5 separate regions of the Homo sapiens genome follow, and regions 1, 3, 4 and 5 are each linked to region 2. Evidence: promoter capture Hi-C in 16 types of primary human blood cells and fetal thymus (Javierre and others, 2016). All regions are on one chromosome and are shown on one strand. The core of a region is centred on a gene start or on the middle of the fragment in contact, and the rest is flanking DNA. Distances in the headings are between cores, read along the strand shown.

Evidence for each region. The method cuts DNA at HindIII sites, captures the fragments that hold promoters and counts their contacts. A CHiCAGO score of 5 or more calls a contact.
Region 1: a fragment that was not itself captured here is called in contact with the fragment with the promoter of DCTD in region 2 in 2 of 17 cell types (non-activated CD4 T cells and activated CD4 T cells); the score reaches 6.3 in non-activated CD4 T cells.
Region 3: the fragment with the promoter of CFAP97 here is called in contact with the fragment with the promoter of DCTD in region 2 in 1 of 17 cell types (activated CD4 T cells); the score reaches 6.1 in activated CD4 T cells.
Region 4: a contact is called between a fragment that was not itself captured here and the fragment with the promoter of DCTD in region 2, in 1 of 17 cell types (naive CD8 T cells). The highest score is 5.7, in naive CD8 T cells.
Region 5: a fragment that was not itself captured here is called in contact with the fragment with the promoter of DCTD in region 2 in 1 of 17 cell types (endothelial precursors); the score reaches 6.3 in endothelial precursors.

What each region holds. Positions count from the first base shown.
Region 1 is chr4:185,465,592-185,471,260 of GRCh38, forward strand. CCDC110 (coiled-coil domain containing 110) reads right to left here. Exons shown (of 7, transcript NM_152775.4): 2 at 5,354-5,458. Among named protein-coding and RNA genes, the nearest start is that of CCDC110, 3.3 kb to the right of the region's middle. The HindIII fragment of the contact is 1,979 bases long and covers 2,544-4,522 here.
Region 2 is chr4:182,916,110-182,921,794 of GRCh38, forward strand. It overlaps DCTD (dCMP deaminase), which reads right to left and starts at 1,277. Exons shown (of 6, transcript NM_001921.3): 1 at 1,202-1,277. RefSeq lists a silencer at 909-1,618 and an enhancer at 3,192-3,241. The HindIII fragment of the contact is 3,169 bases long and covers 1-2,377 here.
Region 3 is chr4:185,201,226-185,206,670 of GRCh38, forward strand. CFAP97 (cilia and flagella associated protein 97) reads right to left here and starts at 2,775. Exons shown (of 5, transcript NM_020827.3): 1 at 2,673-2,775. It also overlaps a transcript of SNX25 not described here. RefSeq lists silencers at 2,308-3,077, 2,687-2,858 and enhancers at 3,618-3,727, 3,838-3,927. The HindIII fragment of the contact is 9,685 bases long and covers 1-5,445 here.
Region 4 is chr4:185,393,401-185,398,584 of GRCh38, forward strand. It overlaps LRP2BP (LRP2 binding protein), which reads right to left and starts at 2,524. Exons shown (of 9, transcript NM_001377440.1): 1 at 1,379-2,524. ANKRD37 (ankyrin repeat domain 37) reads left to right here and starts at 3,441. Exons shown (of 5, transcript NM_181726.4): 1 at 3,441-3,550; 2 at 3,750-3,902. The coding sequence starts at 3,524. RefSeq lists silencers at 2,647-2,836, 3,057-3,426 and an enhancer at 2,957-3,026. The HindIII fragment of the contact is 384 bases long and covers 1,622-2,005 here.
Region 5 is chr4:180,663,637-180,668,574 of GRCh38, forward strand. No RefSeq gene overlaps it. Among named protein-coding and RNA genes, the nearest start is that of LINC00290, 490 kb to the right of the region's middle. The HindIII fragment of the contact is 927 bases long and covers 1,999-2,925 here.

The DNA of each region.
Region 1 (5,669 bases), core at 2,283-4,782, 2.6 Mb after region 2:
TCCTTCAAGTGAAACGGGGAACTTTGGAAGGTTTCCATCATGAGAATGATTTGATCTGACTGAAAAGTTTACAGGTCACTCTGCTACATGATAATAGAGTATGGGGTGGGGTGAGAAGGCAATTGCAGGGCTACCGCAATAATCTAAGTGGAGATGAAGATATCTTGGACTAGAATGGTGGTGGGGGAGGTGGGGAAAGCAGGTAGATTCAGAATATACTTTGGAGATGAAGCCAGCAGCATTGCTGGAGGATTCGTTGGGGCCAGGAGAGATGAATGAATGATGGCTCCTTGTTTTTTGGTGAGAGCAGATGGATGAGGGATGATGTCATTTACTGGGGGAAAACAGTAGAGTAGGAACATACTTTAGGAGAAAAACATTTTTAGATATGTTAAGGCTAGGTTGTCTGTTAAACATCAAAGAAGAGATATCCAATAGTCAGGTGGGTCTACCAGTGTATGATTCATGGGAGCAGCAATGAACACATCATTCAACATGGATGGGCCGGGTGCAGTGGCTCGCACCTGTAATCCCAGCACTTTGGGAGGCCTAGGCGGGCAGATCACGAGGTCAGGAGATCGAGACCATCCTGGCTAACATGGTGAAACCCTGTCTCTACTAAAAATACAAAAAATTTGCTGGGTGTGGTGGCATGTGCCTGTAATCCCAGCTACTCGGGAGGCTGAGGCAGGAGAATCGTTTGAACGTGGGAGGTGGAGGTTGCAGTGAGCCGAGATTGTGCCACTGCACTCCAGCCTGGGAGACAAGAGCGAAACTCCATCTAAAATAAATAAATAAACAAACAAACATAGATGTCACTGCTGGCCATGCAGAAGGACATGCATAGAAGCCCGAACGAAGTGCTTGAGGAGAGAATGGAATGTGGAGATTGGTGGGCATGGAGGATAGGTCACTGTTTCTAGTTTCACTGTGGAAGGGAAGACAGTGCATCCTGGAAGAGATGTGAAAGTCAAGAGGGATTTTTTTTCTTTTTTTGAGATGGAGTCTCACTCTGTTGCCCAGGCTGGAGTGCAGTGGCATGATCTTGGCTCACTGCAGCCTCCACCTCCAAGGCTCAAGCGATCCTCCCATGTCAGCCTCCGGAGTAGCTGGGACCACAGGTGTGTGCCACCACATCTGGCTAAGAGAAGGAATTTTTTTTTTTTTAAACCACAGGACATTCTAACATGCTTGTTTGCTGCTGGAATCACATAGTAGAAAGGGAGAAAAGCAATAATTCCGGACAATGAGGGAGGCTAATTGCAGAAGCTGGGACTTGAGAATTCCACAAGAGATGAGATCCAGAGGAAATCACTTTTGATTGATCAAGGACAATTCTTCCGTTGAAATGGGAGAAGACCTAGAATATGGGTTTCACAAATGTGAAGGGTGAGAATGAAGGAGTTTGGGTCTGAGTGCTTCTACTTTTTTCATATAGAGTGGGACCATGTTATGAGTGGAGCGGCCAGGGAGAAACGTGTTCAAGATTTGAGAACAGGAGGAGTGAAATAGCTTTTTTGCAGAGGATTTGAAGAAGAATTTTCTGTGGAAATAAAGTAAGTTTTCCCAATAGCATTGAGAGTGCATTTTAGATTCATGGTATGACTCAAAAGTGAGTGTTTTTCTCCAGCAAAGTTCAGATGATTCTGCACAGGCAGAGAGTAGGCAGGGAGTCGGATTCATCTATTTTTAAAAGCTATTAACATAACTTTCTGTTTTTCTTATGAGTTTCAGAGACATCGGCTGCTACTTATTCCCAAAGGAAAGGTAATTTAAAAACTAGGCAATACTTAGTCACACAGAATTACGTGATTCTAGAATTGGAAGGGAAATTATCAAAGAACCCAGGAGATAAAACACAATCACACTTCACCATTTACCAAGTCCCTGCTAAACATACAATATCGGGAGGCACATAAACAAAGCGGAAGGCATGGTCCCACCCACCAAGATGAGAGTTTATTGGGAATGTAAGAATATTACTCATCTCATATTCAACTTAAATTTTCCAGCTGCTTCATATTTCTGTCAAAAGTGAAAAACAAGGTAGTTATCAATGGGATGACTTTTGAGGTAATTTTTATTCTGAGCCTGCAAAAAATATTGTATTCAATGTATACAAAAAGTACCAACTGCATACCTGTAGCAAACAGACCAAGAGGAACCAATACATTCTGAAAATGCAACAGGGTAACGATTCTATATAAGATGTCAGGCTCTCTGCAAGCTTTGTAATTCTTAGTTTCTTCTCATTGCAACCTCTGCCTCCCGGGTTCAAGTGATTCTCCTGCCTCAGCTTCCTGAGTAGCTGGGACTACAGGCATGTGCCAGCACACCCGGCTAATTTTTGTATTTTTAGTAGAGACGGGGTTTCACCATGTTGGCCAGGCTGGTCTCAAACTCCTGACCTCAGGTGATCCTCCTGCCTCGGTCTCCCAAAATGCTGGGATTACAGGCGTGAGCCACCATGCCTGGCCGCAGGTTCTAATACTGAGTTCTGCTGTGACAATTCAAGTTCATTCCTAGATGTCCCTGTCTTACAAAGCTTTGTGAGGTGTGGCACCCTCTGCATGAGGCTTTGTCACAGTCATTATGCAAGGAGCTATGCAACAGGTTGCCTGCCGCCCAGATTTGAATTCTAGCTTTGCCACACACTCGCAGTGAGGGGATAACTCTAGGCGAGTGTCCAGTTTGTAGATAAAGCCCTTACTGAGGTGTACGAGGTGTACGGCACATAGTGAATGCTCAAGAGACACTAACTCATTACTGCAGAGGCAATATGATGATAATTTGGTAAATTCAAAATTTCTAGTCAAGACGGAGGGGAGAGAAGCCTTCTCAAAATTCTCCAGTGCTTCTCAATTTTCTCAGAATAAATCCCAAATTCATCCATGGAACTACAAAGCCCTGTCCTGGTTCCTCCCGCCTACCCTTCCCTACTTGTTCTGCTCCATTTACAAGAGCAACCGTTCCTCAATCACACCAGCCACGCTCCCACCACAGGGTCTTTGCAGTTGCCATTCTCTCTGCCTGCGGTGCTCTTTCCCTAGAAATCTGCACAGATTGCTTCTTTACTTCCTTCTGGTCTTGGCTCAGACGTGACCTGCTGAGTGAGCCCTTCTCCTACCACCCTGTTTAAAATGACACACTTCCCACCCACCTCTGCCACTCCAAATATTCCTCCCCCCCTTCTCAGCCTTATGTTCTCCATAGAATTTATTCCCCGCTTACACACAATAGCCTTTGTCTGTCTGTTCCCTCACTAGAAGGTAAGCTCCATGTGGGCAGGGAATCTTGCAAGTCTTGTTCACTGTTGGATCCCCAGCACCTAGAACAGCACTTGAAACTTAGCAGGTGCTCAAAAGAATATGCTCCACAAACGAATGAATGAATGAAAGCTCGGGTACAACAGGGTGCTGGGAACAACACCCTGGACACCCTCAAATTCAAAAGTCTCTCACAAACCCATTCCAATAAGGGTTAATTAGGTTAACCACTAGTTCTGAAATCAGAGACACCTTGGGAACATTCTATAACTCTTTGTAACCTGGCAGTAGTTATGCAAATCAGGTCATTATTTTCTCAGTACACGGGGAATGGATCACTTGGTGACAATGAAAGCATCAGTAGGAGAGTAGAGAGAAGGGCGCCAGCCATACCTCCTAGTTTTGCCTATAGTTGCAGGCAGGAAATTCCTGGGTGGCCCCTGACTCAAGATAACTGGTGTTTATTAAGAACCTGTCCTGTGTCAACCCCAGACCTGTAAACACTGTGTTCTGGCAAGAAAGACTGTAACTCTTAAACATGTACATGTGCTATTTTGCATGTAACTATTTTCTATAAATGTTGGCATCTTTCTCCAGAACCCTAAGCCTCATTCATGTCAAAAAACATGTGATCTTGCCAAATTAAGGTACTTCTATTTCTTCTGACCTTACATGCTCTCTTTGAGGTAAATACGGAGCTACCTCAATGTCTCAACTCTCTGTGAGGACTCTTTCTCCTTCGTTCAGGGGGCCCCTTTGCCCCTCCTGGTTGCCCAGGGAAACCTGCATATCTCAAGGGTGGAGGCAGGAGGGCGGAGAGGGGACTGGCCAGTGCCTGTCCTGCTGGCCTCCACTGGGGTGTTGCTCATCCTGGTAGTGCCTGGGCACCCGGGTGTCTTCTGTCTACTGAGGTGTGGCTGCTCTAGTCTCTTCTTTCCGGGCCCTGACAAGGCTTTTTGTGAAGATCTTGCATGGTGGAGGTGCAGAAATCCTGTCCCAACCTCAGTCCTCTTGTGGTTCAGCACTTTGGCATCAGGATTGCCCATATCCTACAGAGGGGCAACTGGGGGTCCGGGCATGGCACATCAGTCTAGACCCTTCTCCTGCCCCGTGCTCTGCTCCTTCCCCGGCATGTCCCCTCACAGCAGGCTCCTCTGAGAGGCGTGTAGTCAGTCGCCTGGGACTCCACCTTCAATGTCCTCAGATTCCCCTAGCTGGGTACCCCCATCTTATTCATAATTTATGTGGTGCTTGAAAGCTTTAGCTATGTGGCTATTTCAAACATCCTCCCCATATAATATCCTGTAGTCCGTAAATATTTACTATAAAAAGTAGTTTTCTTTAGAAAAGGTATACACCCCTCCCTGGATATCCACAGGGGATTGGTTCCAGAGCCTCTGCGGATAGCAAAATCTGCAGATGCCCAAGTCCCTAATACAAAATGGGGTAGTATTTGCATAGCTTCTATGTGTATCCTGCTGTATACTTTAAATCATCTCTCGATTACTTGTAATACCTTATACAATGTAAATGCTATGTAAATGGCTGTTATACTGTTCAAAATTTGCATTTAAAAATTGTGGTACTGTTATTTTTAAAAATTTTCCCCCCTGAATATTTTCCATCTGTGGTTGGTTGAATCCAAGGATGCGGAACTCCCAGATACCGAGGGCTGACTGCATATCGTTTTAGTGTGTGTCCAAAAAACTCAACAATTCTTACTTAGCATTCAGAGAAGCAACGGAGCGTAGCGTGGTGGTGAAGACAGGCAGTCCGGAGCCGCCCTGCTGAATGCCCGCTCCATTCCTCGCTGCCTGTGTGACCTTAGGGAGTTAACCTCTCTGTGCCCGTTTCCTTATCTGCAAAATGGGGATCGTGGTAGCACCCACCTCGTAAAAGTGTTGTGAGAATTAAACAGTTGATCCATTACGTGCTTAGAACAGCACTGGCACAAAGCGCGAGTGCCGTGGTGGCTGCTGTCCGTGTCATCACGGCCGTGGGAAGCACGCCAGGTGAGCAGGTGGCACAGGCCAGATGCTGCCGCCTGTGTATAGTTAAAGGAGCCTTTTACGGTCTGGCGATTTTACCTGTGTCACTGCAGCCACTTTCCTTCACCCCCTCCGAAGAATTTAGGATCTTGGACGCTGAAAGGAGAACGGAGTCAACTTCATCCTCTTCCCGGTGCTGCTTTTCTGTAACAGAACCGTCCGGGGCTGTTCTGTCGCGGGTCGTGGCGTGGCGGGGCTGAAGGTGGGGGCGGGGCAGAGGGATGGGGCGGGGCAGGGCTAACGGCTGGGGCGGGGCGGAGGGAATTAGGAGGGGGCGGGGCTGAAGGCTGGGGCGGGGGGGCGGGGAGGGCGGGGAGGGCGGGGCGGAGGGAATTAGGAGGGGGCGGGTTTGAAG
Region 2 (5,685 bases), core at 27-2,526:
AAACATCTGAAGCCTTCCCAACTCTGATATTAACCAGATAATTTTTCCCTTCCCTTTCTCCTCAATAATCCAGATGGGACAGAAGTTATCAACTCCGAGTAATGAATTACATGAGAAGAAACTATGAAAAACGTCAAGTGCTACTCCTAAAGCAAGGTTTTTGGAACGTAGTTTACCAGGGGCAAGCAGAGACTGTCTACGGCAGGGAGAGCCCACGAAGGGGGTCCTAGGACTTCAGGGGAGTGGTCGCTTTCAAAAGGAATGAAACAAGGGCAAGGAAGGAAGACAACACAAAAACGGGGTGGGTACCACGGAGAAATCTTGAGAAAGGCGAGGAATGTGGTCTAAAGGAAGGCAAGCATCTCCCAAAACTTCTGCTTCAGGCTCCACACTTTATTTAGGCATCTGCTACAGTGCAGGGCGGCAGTGCCTAAGACAAGGATGCAGTGGAGAGTGGGTGCTGGGAACCACGGTCACCCACTGATTACGCTGCCCCACATCTGAGAGGCCTGGCAACCCCCCTAACAGGAAAAGACAGGTGCTGAATCAGCCTGGTTTCCCACCTGGCTTTAGGGCCAGCATCCATCATCGCTGTGGGGTGCTGGAGAAGTACCTACTAAATAGGAGGGAGGGGGAGCCATGGGGGGCGAGGGAAGAGCAGGAGAGGGAAGGGTCCTGTTAATCCCCTGGGCGCCTTCTCCTGGTGTGGCTGAACGCCCACTAGAGCCCTGTGAGGACTGAGGCCCAGCTGTAGAAACAGAGAGAACTGGAGCTCGAATACAACGATTCAGGAAGACACATCCGGTCACCGTCCCAGGCACACCCCACGCCGCTCGCAACCCCGTCAGCTCTGATCCAGGGCCTACACCCGGCATTCCCAACCCACACACGGGCGCAGGAAGGGATGTGGTGTTCAGACGCCCAGCACCACCTCCCGGGGCACTCCAAGGGGCCCGGCCTCGCACAGGCCGCGGCGCCCGCCGAGAAATCGACCCTGGAGTGACTGCGGGGACCCCGAGCGCCCCCACCCCGCCCGCATTCTCCGATCTAAAGGCTGAGCGCGGCCGAGGCGCCCCCAGCGTCCGCGGCCCCAGGCCCCCGCCCGGCAGCCAGCGCCCCGCGCCACGCGCTCGGGACGGTGCCACGCGGCGGTGGCTAGGGGCGCGCGGGCCGCGTACCCGCACGGCTGGCCCCCGCCCACCATCCGGTGCCGGCTCCGCGCGCAGGCCGGTGCTCGTCCCCGCCGCCGCCGTGCTCAGGGAAGGAAGTCGGGGGAGGAGGCGGGGCCGCCGCGGGGCCGGAAGGGGGCAGCGGCCCGGGCGCCGCGCGTTCGCAGGACGGCGGCTGGCCCCGGGGGCCCGAAGCCCTGAGGGGAGGGAGGGAGGGACGGCGGGGGCGGGTCGCACGCCGCAAAGGCGCTGCTCCGCGTCGCCGTACGCCTCCCGGTCCCCGTGACGCAGCCCGCGGTCCGGCCGGCGGTGTTCAGAGCCCGAGCACAAACTACTTCCCGGGTGCCAGACCGCCCCGAGGTCGCCCCGCTGCCCGGGTCACGCGTGGCGCTGGGTGGCCGCGAGTTGGGCGCTCCCGGGCCTGACTGCACGACCGTCGGGGGCTGCTTGGTTTGGTGGTGGTGGCGGTGGTGAGGTTTTCCCCACCATCCGTGTTCCATCAACTGCTTAGAGACACGGCTATGGAGATTGTGATTAAAAGACGACCCCAAGAATCTAGTGCCGTGAAACTGGCGGGGCGGGAGGTGGGGAGACCTGGTTTGGGTCTCTGGAGTGAGCCCGCTGTGTCGCAGCGTCCCCGTGGGGACCCTTGGCCGGTGGCTGGGTCACAGTTTCACACACTGGATGGGGCAGGGAACTGGGTCCGGCGGGGGCGCTGTGCCTCGAGGCTCAGTGCCTCGAAGCTAGATTTGCATTTGGCTGCGCCTGACAGGCTTTCAGTTTCTGCTCAAATTGTGCGGAAGGGCCTGAGGTGTTTGCTAAAGCCTGCCGCGCCCTGCTCGACCCGTATCACCGCACAGGCACCCCACCTGCATGTTACCTCCTGGTAATGCTCGCCCACTTATATAGTGCACATTTTGTTGCAGTTGTTTCAAAGATGAGAAAAACAGGGCAATAGGAAAGACCATCAGTGACATTTCTGGAGTCGTATGCCCCAAGCAACTTAATCTGGTTTTCATGAACTTCGTTACCCTGTGCAGACGTCTAGCCCCTTACAGTGGTTCTAGCACAGAGAATGACAGAAGAACCCCTTTCTGTTTCATTCATGGGACTTGAGGGGACTGTCAGCACTCCATAAATAACAGCTACTGTAATAATCGCCAGTTCTGATCTGCACATCCCAGATTTGAACTGCTATTCCAAACAAAAGCTTGTTAACTATATTAATTTAGCCTAACGGAGGAAGAATGATGAGAGTAAACAGTTGGTTCTATCTAATTTCTCACTACAGCAGACACATCATTCTTCATCTCATGGTCCAGCTTGTAGATTCAATAATTAAATTATGTACTGCTCTTGGTGGATGCCGGGAAAGCAAAAGGGAGAAATACTTCATCGTTAACTATAGATTTTTTTTTTTTTTTTTTTGCCTTGATAAGACTCAGGCTTGAAAGAGCCACATAGATTAAGATGATGATTTTTAATTTCAAGTTGACTTTACATGGCTGTCTTGTTGCCGCTAAAATGTGTCATATATCCCGAGCCCCTGGTTTCCCTCCTCCTCCCAAATCCACCGCTTGGTCTTTGTCACACTCATCTACAGTCTTTGGGTCTTCATAGATCCATTTCTCTTCTTACCAACCTACAACCCATACATCACCAATTGCTGCTGCTCCTTCAACCACAACATCATTAAGCTTTCTTCCTTCCTCTGCTCGGTAAAGACTGTCATACATAATTTAGTTACTTCTCATCACTCTCCATTTTGGTCAACTCACACACTCCCCTCTGCCATAAATTCAAGCTCCTGCTTGCTGAAAACACATTACCCTGAATGTTCCCGCATTTCACTGAAAGTCCCTCATCTTAAAGATGACATCATTCATAATACAGGAAACCCTCCTGGTTCAGAGTTTCACAACTTGAGGTTTCAAATATTGTACACCAATAGTGAAGCCACGCGGCCAAAGGGGGGAGAAATATATTCCTTGGTATGTCTTTCTCATTAACACCTTGTAACTCCAAGTGTGACTGTAGGTGTTAAATCTCTCTTGCTAATACCTTGTATTTGGGCTTATAATTGAGGATCTTTCTCCACCTACTACAGATACAGAGGTTAGGTATGTGTTCAGCCCTATCTAGATTGGCCTTCCTTGAGGGCCTCACACAGGTTGAACCCAATCAGCACATTCCTAAGGACTACTGTCTTGGCCCTTTTGTTTATGGGGTTTCGTGCTATCTATGTCTAGTCTAGAGCATAACCTGGAATATATTAATATTTCAGTGTGCCTTAGGTAGGGGATCCCGATTAAAAACAGAAGTCAAGGTAAGACTCTTCCAGGGCTGCCTCAGAAGAGGGGTTGATGGCATTTGCAAATGTCTGCCGTACCGAGATACTACCTGCCCCTCCTTCCACCTCCTCTGCCTGCCAAGGTAAGGATGAGACCTGTGACTGGGGAAACAGAGGCAAGGAGTCAGGAAGGTGGCCAATCTGTCCATCAAGTTTGTCATGAGAGAAAGAGCACCGGCCTTGGAGTCAGACCAGACTTTGAACCCTACTCCCACTTCTTACAACCCGAGTAACCTTGAGAAGCTACTTCCATTCTTGGAGTCTCTGTAAAATCAACAATATTCATTTTTTATTAATTCCCTGCTATGTGCTAAGTGCTGTAAATACCATGATGGATACTATAAGCCAGTTCTTGCCCTCACATTCCCCTCTCCGCAAATAAACACAGAAAAAAATGAACCTTATTGCTGGCCCAGTGAACATAGTAAATGTTGTTATAAACTGCCTGTTGTTCTTAATTTGGTGGTTGTCAGTCAGGACCAAAAACTCCTTTGCATAACAACTGCACTTAGAGGCAAAGTGCCACTTTGACTGGTTTTCAAAGGAATAATTGTTTATGTTTCCATGCTAAAGTGCAAACTAGAGAAAACTCTTTTTAAATCTTAAGTAAGGGATGACTGTAAGTCTGCTAAACCACAAAAAAGTCACAATGAAAATTCTAGAAAAAAATAAATATGTGGTCTTATCAATACAGTACAGGTTGAGCATCCCTAACCTGAAAATTCAAAATCCAAAATGCTCTAAGATCTGAAACTTTTTGAGTGCTGACACTCCCACAAGTGGGAAATTCACACCTGACCTCATGTGATAGGTGCACAAAATTATGAAAAATATCCTGTCAAACTACTTCCAGGCTATGTATGTAAGGTGTATATTAAACATAAATATATATTGTGTTTAGATTTGGGTCCCATCCCCAGGACACCTCATTACATATATGCACATATTCCCAAATCTGAAAAAATCCAAAACCTGAAACACTTCTGGTCCTAAGCATTTTGGAGAAGGGATATTCAACCTGTATATACATTTTCGTATGTATGTTAGAGCATGAGGTCAGTTGTTTGTGTTCCATGAAGGGCATACAGACTGCAAATTGACATGACAGAGCACTCCTATCAGAAAAAAAATCAGGATCCCTAAACAGCGTTTTTGTTATGAGTTGAAGCCACCAATTACTTTGTCATTATACATCTTCAAAATTACAATGAAGGGCCGGGTTTGTTGTAATGAACTCACTCCTGTAATCCCAGCAAAGTGGCAGGCCAAGGTGGGAGGATCGCTTGAGCCCAGGAATTTGAGACCAGCCTGGGCTATGCAAGACCCAGTCTCTGCAAAAAAAAAAAAAAAAAAAAGTTTTAAATGAGCCAAGCATGGTGGTGCATGCCTGTAGTCCCAGCTGCTCAGGAGGCTGAGGAGGGAAGATTGCTCGAGCCTAGAAGGTTGAGGCTGTAGTGAGCTGTGACTGCACCACTGCACTCCAGCTTGAGTGACAGAGGGAGACCCCATCTCAAAAAAAAAAAAATCTTTTTTTTCAATGAAGATCAATAAGGAAATGTTAACATGGCATATGCACAAAGCTGGGTGTTTTGCCGTTTTTTATTAATAAATATTTGTTGACTAAATAAATGAGTTAATAGAAAATCATTGTTCTATGCCAAATTGTTTGGAGCATCTAACTCATAGAGAGAAGTCTTTGTCTGTGAACTCTGGTTCTACTTCCCTATCCGCCTCCTTTTTCTCCTTGCAATTCATAGACCTGGAGAGACATTTGATAAGTGAGACATTGGGGCTGGTGGGTCAGGGAAACAAGAGTGAACAGTATCATTTTAAGGAGGCATGGATCTCAGTCCTAGGATTTGGGGCTTGGCCTGAAAATGACCATCTCTCGTACAGCAGAGCTGAAGGCGGAGGGGAAGGCTGTCTCCTCTTTCCTGGTGTGATGCCTCTCCCCATGACTTCTTTGCTTCTACAGAGCTGAACTTGTAGCCTCTTTCATACACAACTGGTTGAAGTGGATGGAAATTACATGTCTTATTGCTTCTTAAAAGAAAAAAAAACATATTAAATCTAAAAGAAATGGGCAATTTTCTCGTACCACTTTCTATTTCTGTGTAAGTTACCAAGTGCCAATCATTCTTACTTTTTAAAATTCACATTTGTCAA
Region 3 (5,445 bases), core at 1,525-4,024, 2.3 Mb after region 2:
TGAGGCAGGAGAATCTCTTGAACCCAGGAAGCGGAGGTTGCAGTGAGCCCAGATCACACCACTGCACTCCAGCCCAGGCGACAGAGCAAGACTCCGCCTCAAAAAAAAAAAAAAAAAAGTTCTACTCTGGATAAAATGCTGTCAAGCAGCATCACAAGCTACAGAAATCTTTTGTGAAAAGAAGTCAATCAATAAAGCAAAGTTAATCATTGTCTTATTTTAAGAAATTGCCACAGCCATCCCAACCTTCAGCACTCAGCACCCTGATCAGTCAGCCGCCATCAACAGTGAGGCAAGACCCTCCACCAGCAAAAAAAAATTACAACTCCCTGAAGGCTCAGATGATTGACAGCATTTTTTAGCCATAAATTATTTTTTAGATAACGTATGTACATTTCTTAAGCATAATACCATTGTACCCTTAACAGACCACGGTATAGTGTAAACATAACTTTTATATGCACTGGGAAACCAAAAAATTCATGTGACTCGCTTTATTCCAAGATTTAATTTATTGTGGTGGTCTGCAAGCAACCAAAATATCTCCAAGGTATGCCTGTATTTACCGTCCCATAGTTTCAATCCCTAGAGGTCTAACCCTCCACCTGGTTTTATGATCTCTTCATGTCGTATCTCCACAGTTTATCATCTTTTAAACACCGTATAGAAACTTTCTGGCCTATCCACTTCTTTTCTAGGAAAGCCCTGTGTCATTGTAAAAATTAACATAAAATACGTATGCCTTTTCTCCTGTTAATCTGCCTTACAGCCCCAGCTGCAGACCCAGCTAAAGGAAAAAGGATTTTTGTTTTTCCCCCCATCCCCTACACTTGTCTCCTTGCCAGACTGGGAGCTCCTCGTCACTTCCTCATCTTTATAACCCCAGTACCCAAAGGAGAACCTGATGAATTTAGTCATTCAAAGAATGTTTATCCCACAAAGGAGTTTGGAGTTAGGAGATTTAAGATTGAGCCATGCTCTTTGCTACCCACGAGGGTAGAAAAATCGCCTTGTATGTGTGTGGCTGGGCATGGAGGCTCATGTGCGGTGGCTCATGTTACAGTCTCATGCCTGTAACTTTGGGAGGCCCAGGCAGGCAGACCACTTGAGCCCAGGAGCTTGAGACCAGCCTGGCCAACATGGCCAAACCCCACCTCTACAAAAAATACAAAAATTAGCCGGGCGTTGTAGCTCTCGCCTGTAGTCCCAGCTACTCCGGAGGCTGAGGTGGGAGAATCGCTGGAACCTGGGAGCTGAGGCTGCAGTGAGCCGAGATCAGGCCACTGCACTCCAGCCTAGGCAACAGAGTGAGATCCTATCTCAAAAAACAAACAAACAAAAAAAATCACCGGGTTTCAACCCAGTTTCCTTGATAGTTTCCTGCCATCTTCCCCCACCCCTCCGGAAGCACAAACCACAACTATGCCTTTATCTGCATTTCCATGATAAGGTCATGCAGTCCCCAAGAGCTGGAAGCCAGCTGCCTCCCTAAGTGGTCACAGTTCATGCGCCCTGGTGCATAGTCCGGTGCCTGTGAGACTTTTCAGGTTTAAATTTTAGTTAATAATATCCAACAGAGTTACTGTAAAGATTTCGACACTCATGTGACTTAATTTACAGGAAAATTTACCCAACAATCCCATCCACTGAGCAATTCTTTTGATAACATTTACTACGAGGTAAGTGATTCAATTTACCAGAGAATAAGAAAAATGACTTAATAAAGTAGTTAAGATTCTCTTTACAACAGACTAGGAAAGGATAAAATTAAAGGATAGTTCATCAGACCATAACAACCCTTTGGTGCTCAATCAAGACAGAGTTTTGCCAGGAGGGGCATGGCTCACGCCTGTAATCCCCGGACTTTGGGAGGCCAAGACAGGAGGATCGCTTGAGCCCAGGAGTTGGGAGGCTGCAGTGAGACATGATCGTGCCACTGCACTCCACCCTGGGCCACAGAGCGAGACCCTGTCTCAAAAAATAAAAATAAAAAAAAGAGACAGGTAAGTTTTTATCAAAGCTGCCTGAGAGTCACTGGGCACGCCCCACTTGCCAGGTCCTACAGACCAGCAATAACAAGACTAATGCTTTCACCAAACATCAGGAAAATACACAGAAAAGCACCGGGCACTTTTTAAACTGTCATCTTGTTACTGTGACAATACATTTCTGTAGTTAAACAGCACAGTAGGCCTCCAACAAGATGCCCAATTGGGTACATGAAAATCCCGGCCCAAATTAAACACCTGTTTCCAGGAACGCTAGGCTCTTGTCTACATCCCCTACCGTCCCCGGAAGGCAGATAACCCCTCGGGCCTCGTGGGTTAGGTTCGAGTCCCTACAAGTAGGAAGAAGTCGTCAGGGCCCGGCATGTGGTCGCGGCCCAATCTCAATTTAGGGCTGATCCTGACCCTCAAAGCCACCCGGAACGCGCGAGAGGGCGGGACCCGCCATTCTCACAGGGGACCGGGGTGGAACGGCGCCGCGACCCGCCGCCGCGGGCGCCCCTGTCGTGGGGGCGCGGTCTCCCACCGTCCGCGCAGGCTTCGTTAAACCCACCCCGAGTACTCGCCGCCGCCTGGGCTCCGGAGCGGGGAGACGGATGCGAACGGAAAGGAGCGTGGCGGGCGCCCCGCGAGCAGGGAGCCAGGAGCCGCTCGCGCGCCCCTCACCTGAGAGCCGCGGCCACCACAGCCCCACGCGCGGCGCTGGCGCACTCCCGCGGCCCTGAACGGGCTCCCGGCGCCGCGCGCCCGCGCTTCCGGAGGCGGAGAGAGCGGAAAGGGAAAGGAGGGGCGGCGTGGGGCCCGGCGCTTCGGGAGAGGCGGGGGCGCACGCCGGGCCTCGTGCGGCCCTCGCGGCGGGCGTCACAGAGCGCGGCGGGCAGGCGGCCAGGCCGGGGCTCCACGCGGGCGGAGTGGAGGCCGGGCCAGGGACGCGCACACTAGAAGAGCCGCGGAAGAAGGCGGTCCAGCCCGCGTGGTTGCCATGGCGCCCTAGAGGCGTTACTGCTGCTCCCGGCTGCCTAGGGCGGCGCGGGTAGGCCCCGTTGTTCTCGTGCGTTAATAGGGAAAGCTGCCTTGATTATCTTGTAATTCTCTACCAAACCAAGAATAAAAAAGAACGGCGGCTGTGTGTTTGTGATATTTTCTATCAGCAAATTTCAGTTCATACCACTAGTTAGTTCTGTGGACCAGAGGCTGGTTTCAGAATGGAAAGACCTTTGCCGAGTGGTAAACGAGGTGGGTAGTTAAAACAATCTAAGGTAAAAATGATCTCTGCAGAATATATTGAATACAATAACTTCTCGTTGAACTCTCAGGTATGGTAGGATGATGGCACCCCAAAAATGTGCACCTCCTAGTCCCCACAACACGTGAATATGTCACCTTATGTGGCAGACAGGATTTAGCTGATGTGATTAAGGATCAAAATGGGAAGATTAACCAGGATTATCCAGTGAACCCCATGGAATCACAAAGGTCCTTATAAGATGGAGACAAGAAGTTCAAAGTCAGTAGTGGGAGCTGTGAGCACAGAAGCTAGAGGTTGGAGTGATGTCAGAGGCAATGAGCCAAGGAGTGCAGGTAGAAGCTGCAAAAGGAGGAAACGGATTCTCTCCTGAAACCTCAGGAAGGAACTAGAGCCTGCAAATTTTGATTTTAGACTTAATACCTTAAGCACTGTAAGACAATACACCTGTGTTGTTTTAACTACTGAATTTGTAGTAATTTGTTATAGCAGCAATGGTATACAATCCAGTAGTTAATAAATATTGTTCACATCTAAGTGCAAAGAAGGGTAGGAAATATGGGTCTTACCCTGCCTGTCCCGGGGAGTTCCAGTAAGGATTGTCTATTTTCGTCCTTCACAATGCATTTTGTACTTGTTGGTCTTAATTACCAAAAGTATAATCAATTCTCTTTTTGTTGCCTAAAAGACAGCATTGGCTGGGCGCAGTGGCTCACCCCTGTAATCCCAGCACTTCGGGAGGCCGAGGCGGGTGGGGCCCCCTGAGAGGAGTTCAAGACCAGCCTGACTAATATGGTGAAACACTGTCTCTACTAAAAATACAAAAATTAGCTGGGCGTGGTGACGTGAGCCTGTAGTCCCAGCTACTCGGAAGGCTGAGACAGGAGAATCGCTTGAACTCCGGAGGTGGAGGTTGCAGCGAGCCGAGATCGTGCCACTGCACTCCAACCTAGGCAACAGAGTAAGACTGTGTCTCAAAAAAAAAAAAAGCAAGAATTTCACTTTCTTTTAAAGTGCTTAATAAAACTGTGTTGGCACCACTTTCCAGGGATAGTTGTTAAACTGTGGTTGGCCCGGCGCGGTGGCTCACGTTTGTAATTCCGCACTTTGAGAGGCTGAGGTGGGCGGATCACCTGAGGTCAGGAGTTCCAGACCAGCCTGGCCAACATGGTGAAACTCCGTCTCTACTAAAAATACAAAAATTAGCCAGGTGTGGTGGTGCACATCTGTAATCCCAGCTACTCAGGAGGCTGACGCAGAAGAATCGCTTGAACCCAGGAGGGAAATGTTGCAGTAAGCTGAGATCACGCCATTGTACTCCAGCCTGGGCGACAGAGCAAGCCCCTGTCTCTAAATAAATAAACAAACTGTGGTCAAAAGTTTATCTTACAAAGGACTTGAGTAGATATTTCTCCAAAGAAAATATACCAATGGCCAATAAACACATGAAAAGATACTCAACACCACTAATTAGGGAAATGCAAGTCAAAAACACAATGAGATACCGATGGCTTTAGTCAAAAAAATAGAAAATAAGGATTGGCAAGAATGTGGAAAGATCGAAACCCTTATGCATTGCTTGTGAGAATGTAGCATACTCAGCCACTGTGGAAAATAGTATGGCATGTTCTGAAAAACTTGAACATAGAATTATATGACCCAGCAATTTCCCTTCTGGACATACACTAAAAGGAAGTGAAAGCAGGGTCTCAAACAGATACTTATGCACCCATGTTCATAGCAGAATAGCCAAAAGGCGGAAAAAACTCAAGTGTTTGTTTATCAACAGACAGATGAAGCAGAATGTAGTAGATACATAAAATGGAATATTATTCAGCCCATGACTTGTGCGCCTCTGGTCCACATAACAACATTAAGATGGTCTGCAGGACAGACAGAATGGAAGATGTATGCCGGGCATGGTGGCTCACTCCTGTAATCCCAGCACTTTGGGAGGCCAAGGTGGACAGATCCTGAGGTCGGGGGGTTGAGACCAGCCCGATGAACCCCATCTCACTAAAAATACAAAAAATTAGCCAGGCATGCTGATGCATGCCTGTAATCCCAGCTACTCGGGAGGCTGAGGTAGGAGAATCTCTTGAACCGGGGAGGCGGAGGTTGCAGTGAGCCGAGATTGCGCCATTGCACTCCAGCCTGGGTAACAAGAGCGAAACTCTTGTCTCAAAAAAAAAA
Region 4 (5,184 bases), core at 564-3,063, 2.5 Mb after region 2:
CAATAAGAAACAGGAAAACCACAGCAAGCAAGAAATAGATAAAATTAGCTTATCGGTTCCACCAACTACTTTTAATAATTTTCACCTGGCACAATTCACTGATGCAAGAGTAATTACTTTTTCTTTTCCTTTTTTTTTTTTTGAGACGGAATCTTGCTCTTGTCACCCAGGCTGGAGTGCAGTGGCGCAATCTCGGCTCACTGCAACCTCCGCCTCTCAGGTTCAGGCGATTCTCCTGCCTCAGCCTCCGGAGTAACTGGGATTACAGGCACCTGCCACCACGCCCGGCCAATTTTTCTATTTTTAGTAGAGACGGGGTTTCACCATGTTGGCCATTCTGGTCTCAAACTGCTGACCTCAGGCGATCGGCCTGCCTCAGCCTCCCAAAGTGCTGGGATTACAGACGTGAGCCACCACCGCGCCTGACCCTCAAGAGTAATTACTTGAATAAGAAGTACTAGGTTTAGTATTGCGGGAGATTCAATTCCAGGAACAAGGCTACACTGACAGTCATTATTAAATAAAACAGTTGTTTTTTCTATGGATTACAATAATTTTCTCTGAAGACTCTTTTGCGGCCAGGCATGGTGGCTCATGCCTGTAATCCCAACATTTTGGAAGGCCAAGGCAGGTGGATCACTGGAGGTCAGGCGTTTGAGACCAGCCTGGGCAACACAGTGAAACCCATCTCTACTGAAAATACAAAAATTAGCTGGGTGTGGTGGCGTATAGCTGTAAGCCCAGCTACTTGGGTGGCTGACGCACGAGAATCACTTGAACCCGGGAAGACGGAGGTTGCAGTGAGCTGAGATCACGCCACTGCATTCCAATCTGGGCAAGACAGCGAGATTGTGTTTCAGAGTTAAAAAAAAAAAAAAAAAAAAAGGCCTTTGGTTTGCATTAAAGAAACCAATCTTAGCCTGAATTGACCAGAGGTGACCAAAATTATTTAAAACACATAGGTATAAGAATGTGGGCTCTGGAGTCAAACTGACTTCAAATTCCTGATTTACCTGCTAATAATTACATGACAAGTTAATGGATCTCCCTAAGCCTCAATTTCCTCTTCTGTAAAATGCAGATAATACCTATGAGCGTTAGTCTTGAGGCACAAGTGCTCAATTAATGTCAATTTGTAATATAATAAACTGGAATAGACGTTAGTGGTTAATACTTTCTCATTTGTCGGCCTTTCTCTATTTCACATCACAGCTGCATGTGTATCACACACTGCCCCCAGACTGAACTACATATAGTGCTCTCAATACTGGAAGATATTTTACACTTCTTAGAAATACTCTTCCCTTCCTGGACTCCTTAGCAAACTCTTACTACTCAAGATTCAGCCCACACATCTCTCATCTATTCGGTCACTTACTCATCATCCAACGTTTTTTTTAACACTCGCTGTAAATGGCATCCTCGTTCTGGAAACGCATCTACCAGCAATTAAAACATGTAGAATTAGCACTGCTTAGGAGAACGCCTATAAAATATGCATCTTAGATCATCTTCCGTTTTAGAAAATTGATCCCACCTGCTACACGCCTGGTGAAACTCCAGTTACTTGCCAGTAAGATATTGTCCCCCAAATGTACTTATCCTGTTTTTGTGCATTATAAGCTTTGTTCAGTTTATAGTTTCTAGGCCCATTACTAAAGTCAAGTCAGATATCCAGCTGAGATACAACTTTTTTTTCTGAAAACAATGTGAGCAATGGACAGGTACGCTGTGATTAAAGGGAGAAAAGCTGTAACGACTCCCCAAATTTCCTTTCCTTATGAAATTTACGTATGTAACAGGAAGTTAAAAAATAACTACCACTTAATGCATACTGAACAGAATCTTGTTTCAAAGAAAAGATATGAAATATGGAGGCACTTTCACCACACAAATATCCCACTACATATGCTAACTGCAGTATTTATGTTCAAAACTGTAAGAACGTGTCTGATACCCTTTATTAGTTAGGAATTCCTGAAAATGAACTTCTGTGCAAACCTGAAGCTTCAACACGTGTTTTAAAAAGCAGTGCTTATTGAATTGATAAACAAAAGCGAAACTGGCAATATCAACGTGTGCTCACCTCACAAATCTGACAACAGTATCTCTACACTGCCGTTCTTTAAACATCATTAAAAGATATTGTGAATAGTTTAAATATTAAAAATGTGGAATATAAGAACGATTCTATATATTTGAACACACATTTATATTCAAATATTCATATGAATAAAAATGCTTAAAACTACCCCTTGGGTAACTAAGTATAACAACATAAACTTGCGATTGCAAATTTTATGGCTCTTACTACAAAACAAAAAGTAGAATGAAAAGACCACTTATCTTTAGAGGACAAGCATGAACTTGTTTTCTAACAGCATAACAATAAACGTATTTATTTCTCCGAGCTTTCAAAGGCATCAACAGAAGGGAATCACTAAAAATGTAGGGGAAAAGAAACACTCGGCTGGAGCTTTGGTTTCTAAGCAGATCCTTCTGGAAAGACGCTTAGGGAGAGTCTAGGGAGCAGCTCTGACGTCAGTAGCTGCCATCGGAAGTCAGGTCATGTTCTACAAAAAGCAGTGACGCACGCCCGACAGCACCCGCGGGGCCGGACAGCGGCTTCACCAGCCCCGCGGGTCCGAATCGCACGCGGCCGGGTCCGCTCTCCCGGGAGGAGAGCCCGGCGTGGACCAGCGTGACGACCCCAGCGTGCTGCGGCCTCTCCCCGAGGGCCCCTCCACAAGGGTCCCTGCGCGGGCCGGGCTCGGCCGTTGCCACTCGGGACAGCCATCCCCTCGAGTTCGCGCTCGCCGTCCCCGCCTTCACCTCCCGGGTTGGGAGGCGGGCGACTGCGCGCGAGGTAAAGGAACTTGCGTTCCCCGGCGCCGAGGCGGCAGCAGCGCAGTGCACAGCGGCTTCTGAAGGCGGCGTCGACGGGGAGCTGCGCGTGGCTCCCAGTTTCCTGGTTACGTGCGCGCCGGCAGAGCCAAAACCTGCAGCCGAAACTCCCGCTTCTCCGTAAGGATTAAAGGGCGGGCGCACTACCGGGAGACGTGTCAAACTCAGCGCGCCTCATGGCGGCCGCGGAGCCCCACCCGCTCCTACTCCAGTCCTCTCACGCCCACTGACTTACCCTGCGCACGCGCGCTGAGGCTCCGTGGGGCCGCCGCGGGCCCCGCCCCGAGGTGGGAGGGCCTGACGCATCCACAGCTGGCCAATCGGCGGATGGCCTCGCGCGCCCGCCCCCTCCCCCTGCCCCCGGCGCCGGGCTCCACGTGCCAGTGTTTGTGTACGTGCGGCCGTGGCGGGGCTGGACAGGGTCCGGGTCGTTGAGGATTAGGCTGCTCGGGCGTAACCGGAGCTGGGGCGCGGCTGCCAAGGGCCGGCCCGGAAGTCCCAGCGGTCTTTAAATTCTCCCGTGCTAGGGCCAGCCTGCGCATTCTTACCTGTCGGGGTGCGGCGAGTGTCTCACCTCTCTGCACTTCCAAGGACTCTTGTCATCTGCCTTAGGCGGGAAATGCTGTTGCTGGATTGCAACCCCGAGGTGAGATTCGGGCTCACAGAGCCCGAGCTTTTGTCCTGCAGGCTCAAGCTTCTAGATTCGTCTTCTCGTTAATGCGGGGACGGACCACTGGGCGCTGCCTGGTCAGAGCTGGTTGTGAAGGGCGGGGAGGTTTCCAGCCCGGAGGGGCGCGGGACTGGACAAAGGTGGGAAGGGTGCTGGATCTGTTCTCTTCCTGCAGGTGGATGGTCTGAAGCATTTGCTGGAGACAGGGGCCTCGGTCAACGCACCCCCGGATCCCTGCAAGCAGTCGCCTGTCCACTTAGCCGCAGGAAGCGGCCTTGCTTGCTTTCTTCTCTGGCAGCTGCAAACGGGCGCTGACCTCAACCAGCAGGTAACTAGGTAACTGTTGCTGTGTACAGCCGTCCCCTCCAACCCAGACACACACAAACATTTCTCAGACGCCAAGAGTTGTTTCAGCTGTTAAAAACATGTCTATAGCAGCGATGTCCAACAGAAATATAATGCAAGACACAGATGTAATTTAAGAGTTTTTTTCCAGTCTTGATGTGAGGACATGAGAAATTTGAAGTTTTTAAGTAGCCACATTAATAAACGAAACATGAAATTTTAGTATTTGACCCAATTTGTCCAAAATGTTATCAGTTCAATATGTAATCAAAGCAATTGCTGATTAGATATTTTACACTTTCTTTTATTCTGTCTTCACAATCTGGTGTGACAGCGTATCTCAAATCAGACTAGCCACATTTCAAATACTCTAGCCTTAAGTGGCTGTTGACTATCATATTGAACAGCACAGATCTAGTTTATTTCAAAAGAAGTAATTGCTACATTACCAAAAGTCTCCCTGCAGCAATTGAAATACTTAGGAGCTATGTCCACAAGCATTCTAATTTCCTAAAGAGTTTTCTTACTGTAGTTTGCATCTTCCACTGAATATTAAAGCATGGTGAATTTTAAATTGTAAACTTTTCTGGAAGAACTCTTTTTATTTGCTTACATTTTAATGTATGTGCATATGGCTACACGTTTTTATTTATTTGAGACGGAGTTTTGCTTTTGTCGCCCAGACTGGAGTGCAATGGCGCGATCTCGGCTCACTGCAACCTCTGCTTCTTGGGTTCAAGAGATTCTCCTGCCTCAGCCTCCCTAGTAGGTGGGATTACAGGCACGCGCCACCGTGCCCGGCTAATTTGTGTATTTTTAGTAGAGACAGGGTTTCACCATGTTGGCCAGGCTGGTCTCGAACTCCTGACCTTAGGTGATCCGCCTGCCTCAGCCTTCCAAAGTGGTGGGATTACAGGCGTGAGCCACCGCGCCCAGCCACACATTTTTATTAATGAAAACGGTATGAAAAAGCAAACTAAAAGAACTAATCAAAAATAAAAAGCTTTTGCAGCTTACCGAGGAAAAAAACAAAAATAAAAAGCTTGAATTTAAAAATTCAGTCCAAAGGAGGAGATTTTTAGAAGGTTCCATACTGAAATGAATATGCAAGCATAGTACATTTCTATGTTTCAAATTAGCCCATGGAGTTGGCTATCCCTAATGTAATCACTAAAAGTATCTAGAAGATCTAAATAAAGGAATGATCATTTCAGAGCGTATGCTAGAATGCTGAAGTTATAATAGTCCACTAGTTACTTAATTCT
Region 5 (4,938 bases), core at 1,212-3,711, 2.3 Mb before region 2:
TGCAGTTTAATTTCAGACTGTTGAGGTTATCAATCATTCCTTAGAAAACTGTAAAATACGCTTGACTTCTACAGAGAGGCTATAGGATGCAGTGAAAATTGAGTTGCCAGGGAGTAAGAGAATTGGACTCTAGATCATCTCTGCCTAGCGGTGCTCCCTTTTCTTCTGTGGTTTTGCTACCTCACCAGAAAAATTAGGTATTGCATTAAATGACTGTAAATGGACTTTCCAACAGAGTGTCTTTCTGGGGGGCTAAAGAGATTTTATGTGGAGTGCAATCAATGTCTGGAAACAAAAATGAGAGCTAAAATATGTACTATGCTACCTAGGAGAAATTTCATGCAAAGTTTTAGATTAGATGTTTCTTTCCCCCTTAAATATAGACACATCAGTAATCTCTTCCTGAGCTTGAATATTATATTCTTGGCTAATCTGGCAACTGCTGGTGAAGGGAATAATTTTGTTTGCTGTAGAAGAAAGAAAGGCTCCACTGAAAACATATTCAGGAAGTGGGATGCATGACTGCGTTTTTCCTAAGTTCACATGAGGCATTGTGAACTTTGTTTGTGCCTGCTATTTATTTTGTATGGTCGTTATTTCCCTTGATATTTTGTTTGCAGCTTTTTCCCCTCTACGGTTTGATGCCTGCGATAATAACAATGCCCCTGCAAAACAAATCCACAATGAGTAAATAGCAATGGTTCTTCTAACCCTCTCTCAAAGAAGAATTTGATCCCTTGCCAGGCATTTTCTGTTTCCCTAGGCCTTTAAAATGACCTTAATTTGCAGACATAATCTGGCATCGTTGTCGCCTGTAACAGAGATGTCAATATTAGAAGTTTGAATCCTGGAATGATCACAAGTGGGATTATTTAATTCCTAAGAAGGCTGGCAGTTGAGGGCAAGAAAGATGCATTTGGAACAATCTCCAAGAGTTTTTTGTTTTTGTCTTTGGTTTCCAACTAGAAAAGGAAAACAGAGATTCAAATCCTAAGCAGACTTTTCAAAAGACAGGCTTCTTCCAAGCAGTAAGAAAATACTATTTCTATTCAAAGACACTTGAAGCTTGTGTTCCTTCATACCTGCCTGGGGTGCTGAGTTTGCAGAGCCTTTCTGCAGACACCTGAGGTTTTTATCAATGAGAATCATGAAGCTTTGGAGAAATAATATACAATAAAAGAGCAATAACTGCTCTTATTAGGCTCTTTCAAGCCATCTGGTGTGATTTTTTTTTTTTTTTTTTTGCACTTTCACGGACAAAAAATTTTGTTGATAAAATTGCCACTGAATTGTAAGTCATGCATCCTTATTGGAAGGCTGATTCTTTGCACCACTAGGTGGCAGTGTAGTCACGTACTTATGGTTATTCATCTGCCAGCTCCTAAATAACAGGGCTTCCGGCTTCAGTGTTAGGTTTCCAAGCCTCTCGTGCATCCTAATATCCATGTCTCCTTTATTCAAAGGACAAGCATATCTGTACTTAAGTGATTTACTCTGTACATCAAGCTCTGTGAAATTTGCACTTATGTTTTGCTTTTATTTTCAAAGAAAACACTTGAATACATTTTCAACAAAATATTACAAGTATCATGCTGATCTTCAACTAATTATTTTTTTATTTAAAATGCTCGGTATGAAAATGTTTTTATGAGCACATGAAAAATAGAAAGCTTGAGAGATGTAGTTTAAAAAATATTATTCTAAACTCACAAAAGTAAAGCTTTGATCTGTCTCTTGAATTATTTAAAAAAGAATAAATGAGCATATATAATTCAAATCTTGGAGTACTATCAAGGGCATCACTATGGGAATTATCTAATGTATTTATTTAAAATATTTTCTACAGTAGACTTTCCAGAAATAATGATGCTTAGAAGAGGGCACTTTTAGTGTTATAATTTTAGTTTGGAATAATTTATGCAAATAATATAGAGTGTTCTCTAGAAATATCCTAGTTTCTTAAGGAATGATGTAGTCTCTTGGATTCTTATATAGAGAAGCTTGTGGTATCTTGTTTCGTATATTTTTGGCAAACTGCCACATTCCGGGATGTCTTTATCACCTTGTTTGACCCACAAAGTGCAGTATCTGCAATGTGGACAAAAAAAAAAAAAAAAAAAAAAAAATCAATAAAATTATTTCCTGCTTCTCATCACTTTCTTTGTTCTAAAAGAAAAGAAAATCCAAGCCCTAGTAGATAAACATTATCTGACCAAACTCTTTTGCATATGTCTTATCTAAACTTTCTTCTGTATTTGGCTGCCTATACAGTCTTACTCTAATATTTTCTAGAGAAACTGGTGTTACGAAAATGCCGGGGGTTTGGTCTAGGTCTCCTTGCTTGCCACAAAGAAAGCCAATCACTAAGACAAGGAAGATTGCCAGGGAAGACTTTATTCAGGTGCTGCAGCCAAAGAGACAGGAGATAAGTTTCAAATCTGTCTCCTCAACCAACTAAAGTTGGGGGGTTTATATATCAGGGAAGGAATGTAGCTACCTGCAGGGAAAAAATCAATTAGGGAGGAGTAAGGAAGTAATCAAGGTGGATGAGGGGCCCGGCATCTCATTTTCTGGATGTAGTCATCTGGTGAGTTTCAGTCCCTTGCCTGAAAGTTGGTTTTAAGACAGGGAGGGTCAATTTCTATGTTATTAAAAAACGCGTAATGTTGGATGAAAAGAGGCATCGCAAATTCCCCTAGGGAGGTTTTTTTCTATTTGGTCATCCAGGGCACAGGGCTTCATCCATGCTCACAGTGCCCCCTAGTGACAGAACAGAAAGAACTCAAGTGTACTCTGAAATCTAATGCTCTGTGGCTAATACACATTATGACCTATGCTAATCCTTTTCATTTCATTACTTTGGGGATGGATCCTATCAAAACATATTTGATATTTCTATAAACTCTACATCTCTATGAATCAATAAGCTTCTTCCTTAAACTCATGCATCAATCATTATCAGACATGTTAGGGAGGCAGAGACAACGTGGAAGTGGCAAGAGTCTCTGACACACAGCCCACGTTTCACTATTTACAACCACACTGGCCCCAGCTAACATCCGTCAGGAGACTGAACACCAGCACTATGACTCTTATGCTTTTTGTGATGTTCTTACCAGGTGTGTAAGGCATGTGATAAGATAATGTATAAACCAGAATGTATAATTTCATCTGTAGAGAATAGTTTAGGTAGCGGGGAATTCTGGCATGCGACATAGAGGCACACATAGATTTTCCTTCATCTCTCTCTATTTCATTACTCTAGTCATTTGAACATAATGCCCAAATCATTGACTTTTCAATATTTAAGTCCCCCAAATTGAATGACATGACCACCCTCTCACTTGTCACATTTTGGCTTTTTCTAAGGACTTTCATTATTTATCTACATTGATTGGATGACCTTTGCCATCTATTTGCTAGCCTTTAAAAGATTTAAGTCTTCCATAAGCATAATCTGGCCGCATTCTTCCCCAAATTAATTAGTATTATTGCTCTCCTGTCATATATTCATGAATTGTGCTTTCTTTTCTTTTGCACCTGCTCTGACTCATTTCAAGGCTGTGTTATCCTAATGAAATACAAAGATTGACCTTTACTGTGCAATCTAATGAAAAATGTACTAATTTTAGGGAACTAAAATTTAACAAATTTCTATCAAGGTAGAATGCGTGCTTTTGTAATGTTGAAAATATTGTAAATATCAATTACTATATATAAAAGAACACATAGCAACATTTGCGAAGACAATAATGCAATGTAAAGTTGAATGAAATGGAAGTAATTTTCTATATATTTTCCTGGTTCTGAAATAAGAAACATTATAGTACAGCTTTGAATGGCCTTGATTTTCTCTGTTGGCTGCAGGGTTTTGCAGCACTAAAGTTATATTTTGAAGTACCTCAAATTTTCCAGACTCTGCAAGAAAGAAAAATAAAGGTATATTCGTTGTGCCACAAAATAAGTACAGTTAGAATATTGAAAGAATGCTTAATACAATCCTTTTATGTAGGCAATTGGGAATTGATGGTGCAATAAGTCTAAAGAGATTTGTAAGGATATTCAGAGGAAGTATTGATATCTGAATTATCAAATAGTTTTCCAAAAGTTACAAAATGAATGACTTCCTGCCATGCTCAGGTATAGAGGCTCATTCACAGTAATTGTGGGGCTTGGCTTTGAAGTTCATTGTACCAACAGTTATCTCAGGACGATGTCTCCAACCTCAAGATGGTACCAGATTCCAGTAAAGTGAAAACAGCACATCACTTTCAATAAGGTTGTTATTTTATTTTTAATGTAATGATTACAGCCAATTTTAACTTATAAATAATGACGTATATTCTTTTTTAGAATCACAAAATCAAAATAATTATTTGGTCCTTTTGCACATGATACTGTTAACACATTGCCACCAGTCCACCAGCTTAGAAGTTACAGGCAACATTAACTGTAGCCCCAGTGAGTAAGGCATTATATCAAAAGCATGATAACCTGCTACTTAAAGTGTGATGTGCACATTTTGCTGAGTTCTAACTTATCATATCATATACTGCCAAATACTAGGTAAAATTCCTGCTCCTAGACATAAAATTTTGTCTTAAGGAGAGTTTAGCCCATCAAGCTCCCTGAAAGTATTTGTTTTCCTGCTAAACGCTTTGCCTCTTTTTTTTTTTTTTTTTTTTTTTGAGAGGGAGTCTCACTCTTTTGCCAGGCTGGAGTGCAGTGGCGCAATCTTGGCTCACTGCAACCTCCGCCTCCTGGGTTCAAGCAATGCTCTGCCTCAGCCTCCCGAGTAGCTGGGATTACAGGTGTGGGCCGCCATGCCCAGGTAATTTTTGTATTTAGTAGAAACGAAGTTTCACCATGTTGGCCAAGCTGGTATTGAACTGCTGACCTCATGACCCACCCGCCTTGGCCTCCCAAAGTTCTGGGATT